Linked DNA regions of Homo sapiens: region 1 is linked to region 2. Evidence: promoter capture Hi-C in 16 types of primary human blood cells and fetal thymus (Javierre and others, 2016). All regions are on one chromosome and are shown on one strand. Each heading gives the region's core, a stretch centred on a gene start or on the middle of the fragment in contact. The rest is flanking DNA. Distances are from core to core; before and after follow the strand shown.

The links. Contacts are between HindIII fragments. The CHiCAGO score rates a contact against its expected background, and 5 or more counts as called.
Region 1: a fragment that was not itself captured here is called in contact with the fragment with the promoter of RLN1 in region 2 in 1 of 17 cell types (erythroblasts); the score reaches 5.6 in erythroblasts.

What each region holds. Positions count from the first base shown.
Region 1 is chr9:4,746,821-4,752,558 of GRCh38, forward strand. No RefSeq gene overlaps it. Among named protein-coding and RNA genes, the nearest start is that of AK3, 8.5 kb to the left of the region's middle. The HindIII fragment of the contact is 4,823 bases long and covers 1-4,466 here.
Region 2 is chr9:5,337,011-5,343,042 of GRCh38, forward strand. RLN1 (relaxin 1) reads right to left here and starts at 2,866. Exons shown (of 2, transcript NM_006911.4): 1 at 2,526-2,866. The coding sequence starts at 2,736. It also overlaps a transcript of RLN2 not described here. The HindIII fragment of the contact is 10,294 bases long and covers 1-6,032 here.

The sequences.
Region 1 (5,738 bases), core at 805-3,304, 590 kb before region 2:
TCCATGTCTTTATTCTCTTTCAGTTCTCTTTCAATCTGGAGTAATTCCGTAGTCTTTCCTTGACTTTTATGACTTTGACACTCTTTGTTCATTGTTTTGTTTTCTTTTTTAACTTCCCATACTATGCCAGTGTAATGACCTTGACACTCTTGAAGATTATGGGAAGGTTATGTTGTAGAACACCCTCTCTTTGAGTTTATCTGATGTTCTCTCATGATTCTATTCAGCTTATTCATCTTTGGTAGATAATATTACAGAAGTAGTGCTGTGATTTTGTTATGTTCTATCAGATGGCATATGATTTTAATGTGTTGCATTATTGATGATGCTAACTTTGATCACCCAGTTAAGGTGGTGTCTGCAGGATCTCTCCACTATGAAATTACTCTTTTTCCATTTGTAATTAACAAGTATTCTAGGCCCGGCACGGTGGCTCACGCCTATAATCCCAGCACTTTGGGAGGCTGAGGAGGGAGGATTGCTTGAGCTCAGGAGTTTAAGACCAGCTGGGCAACAATTCAAAAAAAATTAGCTGGGCATGGTGGCCCAGCCTATATTCTTAGCCTCTCAGGGAGTGGGTTGAGTGGGGTGCTGAGGTGGGAAGATCACTTGAGCCCAGGAGGTGGAGGCTGCAGGGAGCTATGATCGTACCACTGCACTAGAGCCTGGGCAACGGTGTGAGACCCTGTCTTTAAAAAAAAAAAAAGTATTCTGTAAGAGGGTAGTTGAAGTTCAGACTTTGTAAATACCTTATCTTTCATCAAACTTTTAATTTACTCACTATCTTACATTTATTTATATGGTTTCTTATTTTATTAAATTGGTTGTAAGCCATTGTCATTATTATTTATTTTGATGTTCAAATCATTTAAGATTTGGCTAATGGAATCTCCTTCGTGTTAGCTAGCATCTGTGTCCTTTTGGCATGTCCCCATTACTCTTTGTGCACTTCTTTACTTTCTGGCATAAGAAGGTCCAGGTTCATCTTGGACTTCCTAGACCCAGCAACACATTGAAATGGCTGAGATCAACCATTTCTCCAAGAATCCCTGGTTTCCTTTAGTGGAATATGGAATTTAGAAACTGAGGCCCGTGCATTCAGTGTGCTCATTACTATTAATGTGTTGCTGCTTTAAGGCCCTCTCAGAGGACAGGGCTAAGGAATATGTAAATATGTTTGTATTCATTTACACACACGTTTACATCTACATTTATTTCTATGTTTATCTATGTATTACTGAAGCCATGAGTTTACATTGATACCTTCATTTCTGATCTAATATTCTAGGATTTATTTTCATTTTTTCCCTTCCATCCTTCACTACAATCCTAGTCTTGTCTTCTCCTCATATATTGAAGCCACCAATTTTTATTTTATTTTATTTTATTTTTTAGAGACAGAGTCTTACTCTGTCACCCAGGCTGGAGAGCAGTGGCATGATCATACCTCACTGCAGCCTCAACCTCCTGGGCTCAATTGATCCTACTGCTTCAGCCTCCCAAGTAGCTGGAACTACAGGCACATGCCATCACTCCCCACTAATTTTTATTTATTTATTTATTTTTAATTTTTTTTAGTAGAGACAAGATCTTGCTATGTTGGCCAGGTTGGTCTCAAATACCTGGGCTCCAGGGATCCTCCCACCTCAGCCTCTAAAATATTGGGATTACAGGTGTGAACCACTACATTCAGTCTTCTTTTATTCTTATCTACCTAACACAGAGTAACACATTGCTTCTGGATTTTGAGTTAGTGTCTCTAACAGACTCTCATGTCCTTCATGTATCCACATTTATGATCAGTCACTCTGTGTATACCCAACCTTCTATCACCACTGCCTACCCTTTCTCCATGCAGATGTCCTCCTCACCCCACTTGGGTTACAGAATTCCATGCCGACAATTCATCAGCCCGATATATGGACGCTGTTATCTGGCTGGGGCTCTGACACTCTATGCTGGACCAGACCACGCCCTCCAAAGACATCCTTCTCACCACTTCTGGGCTCTGACATCACAGGCCAGGCTGCTTATGACTATGAGCATTCTACTCACTCTGTGCAGACTCCAAAACCCTGAGCCACACTGTACTGCCGTCTACATGGAGAAATCTTCCTCACTCCACTCAGACTCTGGCACTTGTGCTGGGCAGCTCTCCTCTGCAGATGCCCTCTTCTTGCATATAGTTTAAATGTAGACCCAACGTGAGTCCCTGGTGGATTCGATGGATTAAAGTGAGGGAAAAAAAGAGATTTCTCCTGAGCTACTGGGAGAATAGAATTGTCATTAGCTGAGATTGGGAAGACTATAAGAGAAACAGGTTGGGTGAAAATATTAGAGTTGTTTTGGAATAAGTTAACTTCGAGATACCTGTTGGACATCCAGGCAGAGAAAATAAGGAAGGAGGCAGATGTATAAATTTTGACCACAGGGTAGAGGTCCAGGCTGGAGACATAAATTTGAGAGTTGTCAATATGTTTAAATTTTTGAGATGGTACAAGCTCACTAGGGAGCAACTTTAGATAGAGAGGAGAGGTCTGAAATCTGAGTTCTGAGGTTGTCTAACATTTTGAGGTTGGAAGATATGGAAGAAACATTGAAAAAACCTGAAAGAGAGGGAGAGGCCAATTAAGAAGAAAATTGGGTGAGTATGGTGTCGTGGAAGTCAATTGAAGAATGTGTTTCAAGAAGAATATGATGAAATGAGTCAAATTCTGCTGATAGGTAGGACTGAGAACTGATTGAAAATTATTTCTAGGCTGGGCACAGTGGCTCACGCCTGTAACCCCAGTACTTTGGGAGGCCGAAGTGGGCAGATCAGAAGGTCAGGAGTTTGAGACCAGCCTGGCCAGCATGGTGAAACCCTGTCTCCACTAAAAATACAAAAAATTAGCCAGGCATGGTGGCGCCTGCCTGTAGTCCCAGCTACTCAGGAGGCTGGGGCAGGAGAATCGCTTGAACCTGGCAGGTGGAGGTTGCAGTGAGCTGAGATCGTGCCACTCTACTCCAACCTGGGTGACAGAATGAGACTGTCTCAAAAAAAAAAAAAAAAAAAGGAAAAAGAGAAAAAAGAAAATTACTTCTAGTTGTCAAAAAAAACCCCTTATGAAATAAATTACATTTCATTTACAATTTATAGATTTAAAAAATGAGGATAATTTTGCCCCAAATTCCATAACTATTCAGCAGCTAAATTAGTGATTTCAAATTGTACTGGATGCATATAGGAAATGCTTTCTCTGAGGAGAAACTTCTGGGAGTAGAATTCAAATTATCCAGACAAGGATATTAGAGAAAAAAGAAAGATAAGGTCTAGACAAAAGTCAAGGAACAGAACAGAGAAGGTGGAACTCAGATACTACAATGTCATATTGTTTAACACTTTGCAAAAGAAACAGAAGAGGGCGCCTTAGAGCTAAGACAATTTTATTAGGACGTTCACTTGGAAAGATAAATAAGAATATCTGAGAAAGCCCTAAGAAAGACGGACAATGAGGAAGCCTGTACCATAAGAAAATAATATTGACACATATTTTAGTTTATTCTATGTCCTCCTCACCCCACTTGGGTTACAGAATTCCATACCGACCACTCATCAGCCTGATATATGGACACTCTTATCTGGCTGGGGCTCTGATACTCTATGCTGGACCAGACCACCCCCTCCACAGACATCCTTCTCACCACTTCTGGGCTCTGACATCACAGGCCAGGCTGCTTATCGCTATGAGCATTCTACTCACTCTGTGCAGACTCCAAAACCCTGAGCCACACTGTACTGCCGTCTACATGGAGACATCTTCCTCACTCCACTCAGACTGGCACTTGTGCCGGGCAGCTGTCCTCTGCGGATGCCCTCTTCTTGCATATATTTTAAATGTAGACCCAACATGAGTCCCTGGTGGATTCTGTGCTGCTATAACAAAATATTGAGACTGGATAACTTATAATGAAAAAGAAACATATTGGCTCACAGTTCTGGTGGCTGAGAAGTCCAAGATCAGGTGCTAGCATCTGGTGGGAGAGAGAGAGAGAGGGAGAGAGAGACAAAGAGACCATGCCTGAAAGCCCCTTTATTAAGGCACTAAACCCACTCAGGAGGGTGGAGCCCCATGGGCCAAATACTTAACCAAAGATCCCACCTCCCAACACTGTCTCAATGGCATAAATTTCAACGTAAGTTTTGATGGGGACAAATGTTCAAACCCATGGCAGCACATGAATAAAACAGAATAGAAAAGCCAAAAATTTTAAAAAATAAGAAAACCCAAAAATAAACTTAATGACATCTGGAAGTCTAATAAGTGGTAAATATGCCATCTCAAATCAATAGAGAAAAAGAAGACCTTCTTAATAAATAGTCCTGTCATAAATGGGTAGCCAGTGGAAGAAGATACAATCTGTCTTAGTCTGTTTTCCGTTGCTATAACAGAATACCTCAGACTGAGTAATTTATAAAGAAAATAAGCTTACTTAGCTCGTGATTCTGGGGGCTGGGAAGTCCAAGAGCAGGGTGCCAGCATCTGGTAAGGGCCTTCCTACTACATCATAATATGACAGAGTGCATCACATGGCAAGAGAGCAAGAGCATGTCAACCTCTCAGGTCTCTGGTCTTCTTATAAAGCCACCAGTCCCATTATGGAGGCCCTACCCTGATGACTTTATCTAATCCTAATTATCTCCCAAAGGCCCCACATCCAAATGCCACCAATCTATAAATTTGGGAGTTACATTTCCAACACATGAAATTAGGAGGACATGTTCAAACAAGAGCACCATCATATCTGTTTTTCCACTTAAGATAAATTCCAATGGATCAAATATCTAATTTTTTGAAAGAAGTAAAGCTATATAAATACTAGAAGAAAATATGATGAAAATTTTCTATAATCAAGAAATTGGAAACACTTTTCTAACTCTAACTCAAAATCCAGATGCAATACAGGAAAAGACCAAAATTGGAGGTATACAAAACAACAATAACATTTTTGCATAGCAAAAGACATCATAAGCAAAATTAAAAGATAAATGACAAACCGGGAATATGATTTCCAATTTATGTCATAGACAATGGGTTAATGTCCAGTAATGTGTTCTTCCCGGGAGTGGGGGTCAGGAGGATGTTATCGCATTTGCCAATTTCCATAGAGTAAATACTCCACCATAGCCAGTGTTAACTTGCCAATGTAATATCAGCTGCACTAATGCTACATCAGCGGGACTGCAAAATTCCTAAAAATTTAACAGTCAGCACTTGCAAGCTGGCACTAGCCAGCTTTAGCACACTGCTGCAAATATTCCTAATATATGATGGGCTTCTAAAGATGGAGAAGGGAAGGAAACCCATCCTATGGAAGATAGGCAAGAGATACAAACACTTTGCAGTTCACACACACACACAAAATGAAAATAAAGGACCTTTAAATATATGAAAATGTTGAATCGTACTACCCGTAAAATAAATGCAAATTTAAACTAAAATGAGATGCCATTTTTCAACTATCAGATTGGGAGAAAATCTCAAAGTTCAACAATATAATGTGTTTACCAGGCGGTGAGGAAAGAGGCACTCATATTTTGCTGGTGGGAATGCAAAAAATGGTACCATCCATGAGGAGGGTGTCAGCCTTAAGAATGAAACTGAGGTAAAATTAGTATAAATCAAAAGTGTATTTGGGCCAAATTCGAGTACTTTAATTTCGGAAATGTATGTTCAAGTTGCCCTGAAATATATGCT
Region 2 (6,032 bases), core at 1,616-4,115:
AAACAAAAAACCTGTAGTATTTTGTCTTTGCCCCTAACACTCTCGCTCATCCACATTCTAAACTGGAAATGACAGATGAGAATTTATATCATTTTTGGTTAAATGACAGGTTTTGGCATTTTCCCTCATTAAGACATCCTAAGTTTAATTCAATTTCCTCATAAAAACGTCTCTGTGCTCCAACCTAAACTGTCTGTAGTTGCAGTCTTATTAAATGCTGAAAAAAGCTGATGGTAATTTTCTGTATACTTAAAGCCAGTTAAATGAATCAGCCAAAACAGTTATAGATTGTATTCAGTTTATTCATAGGCTGTGTGTTTTGAACTTTTATTAAAATTATATTTTTAAACCTGTTTTGAAATATTTCATAATCCATAACACTTTTAGCTATGGAACCTAGGCTCAGAGAAAATATTCTGTCTGAATTCATGCAAATACCCTTAATTCACTGTATTTTGGATGCAAATCTTACTGAAATAGATCTCTGGTTTAAAGCGGATCTTATTTTTAAAAGGGATGCAGTGAATATTACTTTGGCACACATTGTAAGATAAAATGGTTATCTAACAGTGTAATAACGTGAAAGCAAGTAGCAATTACCTAACAGTATAAGTCTGAAAACTCATATTAATCACAAATTACTGACATGTACTTCCAAAGCGATTCCTACCTAGTAACGGTAAACATTTATCTTAATCCCACGTGCAGGCAATATTTTCTGAGGTTACTTTCAGTTAAATTATACTGCATAGCAATAAAGAAAATTCTTTAAAAATACTTTGAAATCTCATGTCTCTTCTAAAGAAATAAAAGTGTAGCTAAATATCTATATACAAATGTGATTAATGATTTTCAGCAACAATTTAGAAATAAACTAAATATCCACCAAAGAATCTTTAAGTTTATGTGGCAGATTTATGACAAAAATACTACACAGGAATTTCAAATTATGTTTTGGGATAATAACAATGTGAGAAACTGCTCAAAGTATAATGGTGAGTGAAAATGCAAAAGATATATACATATACCTATCCAAATGTTAACATTTCTTTCCACTTACTTGTTTAATATAATTTCATTTTCTCATAAAATTCACATATACTTTTCAAAGTCCTTAATATCTACGAGTGCTTCTCATTTTTCACGCTGCATTAATGTACATTTGTCTTTAATATGAGCATTACTACTTTTATAGTCAGAAAATGTGGAATAATAAAGCAAATGCAATGCAATCCGGTCTTCTCTACTTTTTATCACTAAATTCCTAGACGTTGTGGTATTTTTGTACTAATGTTATACAAAAGTCATGTAAAAACTGCCATTAAATAAATCAAACTCTAACAATGTAGAAAAGTAAATAACTTTAGAAGCATACTTTAAATCTCATAAAAGAGAAGTAAATGTATTTCTGTTAGAGTCATTTATATATAGTATATGCATATAGCCTATAAAATTTAGTTGCGGTTTATCATAAATTACATGTCATACTAATACAAAACACTTAGTATTTGCAACTGCGGTTACTTTCTCTGAATTTAATATGACCCGTTACACTTCTTAGACTAGTATATACCTCCATGAGTTTCCACTGCTACTTTATAAATACTAAAATATTTTTAAAAGCCATTTCAGATTGAGCTGTACTCAACTCTAAGAGCTTGCCTTTAAAGCAAACCCACTGCAGCTTCCAAATGCTTGAAAGCATCAGTAGGGTCTTCAGCTATGATGGTCTGAACGGCCTGCTTTCCTTGTCTCTGGTCCTCTTGAGTTTCTCCTAAAGGCATTCAAGCCTTTCCTTTCTCTTCCATCCCCTGCCTCACAAATGAACTTCAATACCCAGATCAAAGAAGCGGGAGGTCAGACTCTTTCCTTTGGGATTTTCTGTTTGTTTATTTTAAAGAACGTTTCCAATGGCAAAGGCCACAGCCCAACTTCTGGACTAGGAGAGTCATTAAGTGTAAGGCCCTTCCTGTCTTCCCATCACGGGACCCTCACAGAGACCTCAGAGTGTTGCCCCGTCCTACAGGCGCGCAAACAGGCTTGATAACTAGCGCGCCGCCTCAGTGTTTGTCCCCTCTCCTCTCTATCCGAGAAGCCCTGTTCAGGTGCCCCCACCAGCACGCCCGCTGTCTGGCCGCCTGGCTTTCCTGTGGGGTGCAGGAGTGCGCCCGGCCTCCTGCGGGTCTCCGGGCGGCGTCACCTCCTCTGAGGCTTCCCCTCCCTTTCCACCCCGTCGCTCTGACTGCCTTACGGAAAGGGCACCAAGGAACTCTCGGGTGAAGCAGCTTCCTGTTCTCAGTGCTTTCCCTCCGTCCGGTGAGATTCCCAGTGAGACTGTTTGAATAAAATCACCTGGCAAAGGAAAAGCCCAAACTTTAGGGACCAGCCACGGCTGAGTAGGGGCTGAGCGGTGGCAGCCAATGAGATCTCGAGTCGGACGTGCAGGCCGCCGTTCCAATTGGGCGGCCGCCCCAGAGTAACCAATGGGAAGCGCGGGAAGGCCGGGAGGGGGCGGGAGCTCTCACCTGCCACTGGTCTAGGTGTCTGAGGAGCATCTTCCTGGCTCAGAGACCTTTTGCTCCAGGTGCTCATGCCGCAAATGGCAATCTGCGCGCGAACTAATTCGCGGCCGCATAATTTAATAACATCGTCCTTCCATTTGGCCGCGACTGCTCTGGAAAATTGGTTCAGTAGTAAACAGAATTCTAGCAGGTGGAACAAGAACAGGCGAGGCATCCTGGGCCTGGTCTCTCCTGGAGGTCTGGGTGTTGCAGCCTTTCAGGACTGCGGCTGCTGTGGCCTACACACCTGGGCCTGTGTGCCTGTCCCGGGCTTTAGGCTGCTTTCCCTACCCGGCTCAACCAGTCTTTAGTATGGGCTATCACTCAGCTTTTAAGGCAAGGTTGCCAGCTCCACCCCTTTCCCACACCCCTCCACAGAATTTTCTCCTTCAGCTCTTGTTCTGCCTCTCCGCCCTTCCTTCATTTGCCCATTCCTCTGTCCTTGGCCCTTTTACAGTTTTGTTTTTCGCTCTTTTGTTACCCTGAAACAACTTTGTATACTTAGGTAAAGTTATTTTAGATATGAAGCCTTTCTTTTTACATACACAGAAATAAAATTGAGATCGCCAATATTCTTACAACCCAGTTTTCCAGAGTGAACATTTGCCAAAAACCCTTCTAACCTAAATAGGATTATAGATTACCTTATAAATTGGATTAATTAGTATAATGTTGGGCATATCAATCCATAAAAATATAATGGATGAATGAATAAATTGTTGATGAGAGGGAAAACTGATGACTTTTAATCTGAATCCAGGTAAAAAGATTAAAATCCCCAGTAACATCATTTTAGGCTTGTGCAGTAATGTCTTTAATTTACAAAACAATTTCTCCATTGGACTTTCCTTCCACTCCTGTGGGAGAAGTTTGATTGTAACTAGTTGTCTAAATATTTTAATTTAAAATTCTAGTCTATGTCTCTGGAGACTGGAGAACACACCACACACACAGAGAGAGAGAAAGAGAGAGAGAAAAGAAGAAGAGAAAGAAGAAGGGGAAAAAAAGCAGTGGACATCCCACATTCCCAGAAATAATATTTTGATAACAAATTACAGCACAAGGATATGTTCATTTGTTTACTGTATTTTGTGTTTGCTGCACCTGGTTAGAGGTGATTCTTTTTTTATTACCACCACCTAATTTAGCATTTTAAAGATCCACACAGTTCTAGATAATATGGTTAGTAGACGACCCTTCTACCTGTAAATTTTTAGTACAAATAGGTTCATTTTTAAAAATAACTTACTTGCTTGTGTTCATAATATACTCAGATTAGTTCAGCTCCATCAGATAAACTGGAGACATGCAGGACGTTATGGTAGCTTTGAAATAAAATAATAACAATCTCTTAGTTACAAACATAACTATGGAATCAAGTAATTCTAATTTCTAGATTGCTGGTGATTTCAGTAGGCCCACTTAACATTGGTCAAATGCCAAGCAATGTGTAATTCTTCAAAAAATACCTGACCAAAGCTATGAGATGGTTAGAGGCAATTAATGATTTTAAATGGATTTTCACTAAAACACACAGTTTGAGAAAGGCCTCTCAAAACTGAGGTTTGAAAATATTTTCGTGGGTTAACAGTCCTTGTAAAAACAATCCACGTGCTAGGCTGTACTCCAAATTAATTGCTCATTAAAAATGTAAATTTCCAGAGTTTTTTGTTTGTTTTTGGGTGATTTTTTTGAGACAGAATTTGGCTCTTGTCACCCAGGCTGGAGTGCAATGGTGCAATTTCGGCTCACTGCAACCTCCACCTCCCAGATTCAAGCGATTCTCTTGCCTCAGCCTCCCAAGTAGCTGGGATTACAGGCATGTACCACCACACCCGGCTAATTTTTGTATTTTTGGTGGAGACTGGGTTTCACCATGTTGGATAGGCTGGTCTCGAACTCCTGACCTCAGGTGATCCACCTGCCTCGGCCTCCCAAAGTGTCCAGGGATGTTTTGAAATTTTATGTTGCCTACATGGTTTTACAGAGTCCTTAAAACTGTCCAGTACAGTGGCCACTTTTCCATTTTACAGAAAGAAGAAACAGATTGAGAGTTGTTCAGGGTAATTTTGGCCAGCACATATGCCAGATGTGGGCTTACCCTACTGCTAAGGATCACAGGCAAATGCAAGATTCACAGTCTTTACAGGCACAACTAAAAGGCATTTCATGTCCTTTAAACAAAAAGGAAACCTTTTTAAGGAGAAACAACAAATATGTCCATGCATACAGCTGTCACATGCTGGAGGTGGGGTTCCAACCCATGTCTACTGGATTCTTCTACAGTAATGAGAGAGGACTTTAATACTCCACTCTCAACAACATACAGATCAAAGACACAGAAAATTAATACGGAAATATTGAAACTGAATTGCACTGTAGACAAAATGGCCGTAACAGATACATGCAGAACATTTTATCCAACAGCAGAATCCGCATTTTTCTCTAGTGCACATTCTCCCGGATAGACCATTTGGTAGGGCACAAAACAAGTCATAATAAATTTAAGATCAAAATCACATCAAATATTGTTCCTGACCAAGATGGTATGAAACTTAAATCAATAACAGGAAAAATATACGGACATTAAACAAAATGCTCTTGAACAACAAATGTGTCAAAACAGAAACAAAAAAAAGGAAATTACAGAATATCTTGAGACAAATAACATTGGAAACACAATATACCAAGACCTATGGGATGCAGCAAAAGCAGTTTTAAAAGGGAAGTTTATGTAATAACAATAAATGCCTACATTAAAAAAGAAGAAAAGATCCCAAATAAGTAGCCTAACATTACAGCTCAAGGAACTAGAAAAAGATGAAACTAAACCCAACTTTAGAAGAAGGAAAGAAATAATGAAAATCAAAAAAAGAAACAGAAAAATCAATACAACTAAGAGTTTTTTTGTTGTTTTTTGTTTTTATTTTTTGAGACAGAGTCTCACTCCATCATCGAGGCTGGAGTGCAGTGGCACAAGCTCAGCTCACTGCAACCTCCACCTCATGAGTTCAAGCGATTCTTGTGCCTCAGCCTCCGAGTAATTGGAATTACAGGCACGAGACACCATGTCTGGCTAATTTTTGTATTTTTAGTAGAGATGAGGCTTTGCCATGTTGGACAGGCTGGTCTCAAACTCCTGACCTCATGTAATCCACCCTCCTCGGCCTCCCAAAGTGCTGGGATTACAGGCATGAGCCACTGCACCCAGCCTAAGAGCGTTTTAAGTAAGCAAAACTGACAAACCCTTAACTAGGCTAAGAAAACAAAAGAGAGTACTCAAATATATAAAATCAAAAATAAAATTGGAGACAGTAGAACAGACACCTCAGAAATAAAAAAGATCATAACGAACACTAGTTCGTTATGAATAATTATATGCAAAAAATTTGGTAATCTAGAGGAGATATAGACATTCCTAGAAAAATACGAACTACCAACATTGAATCAGGAAGCTGTAGAAAGCCTGAA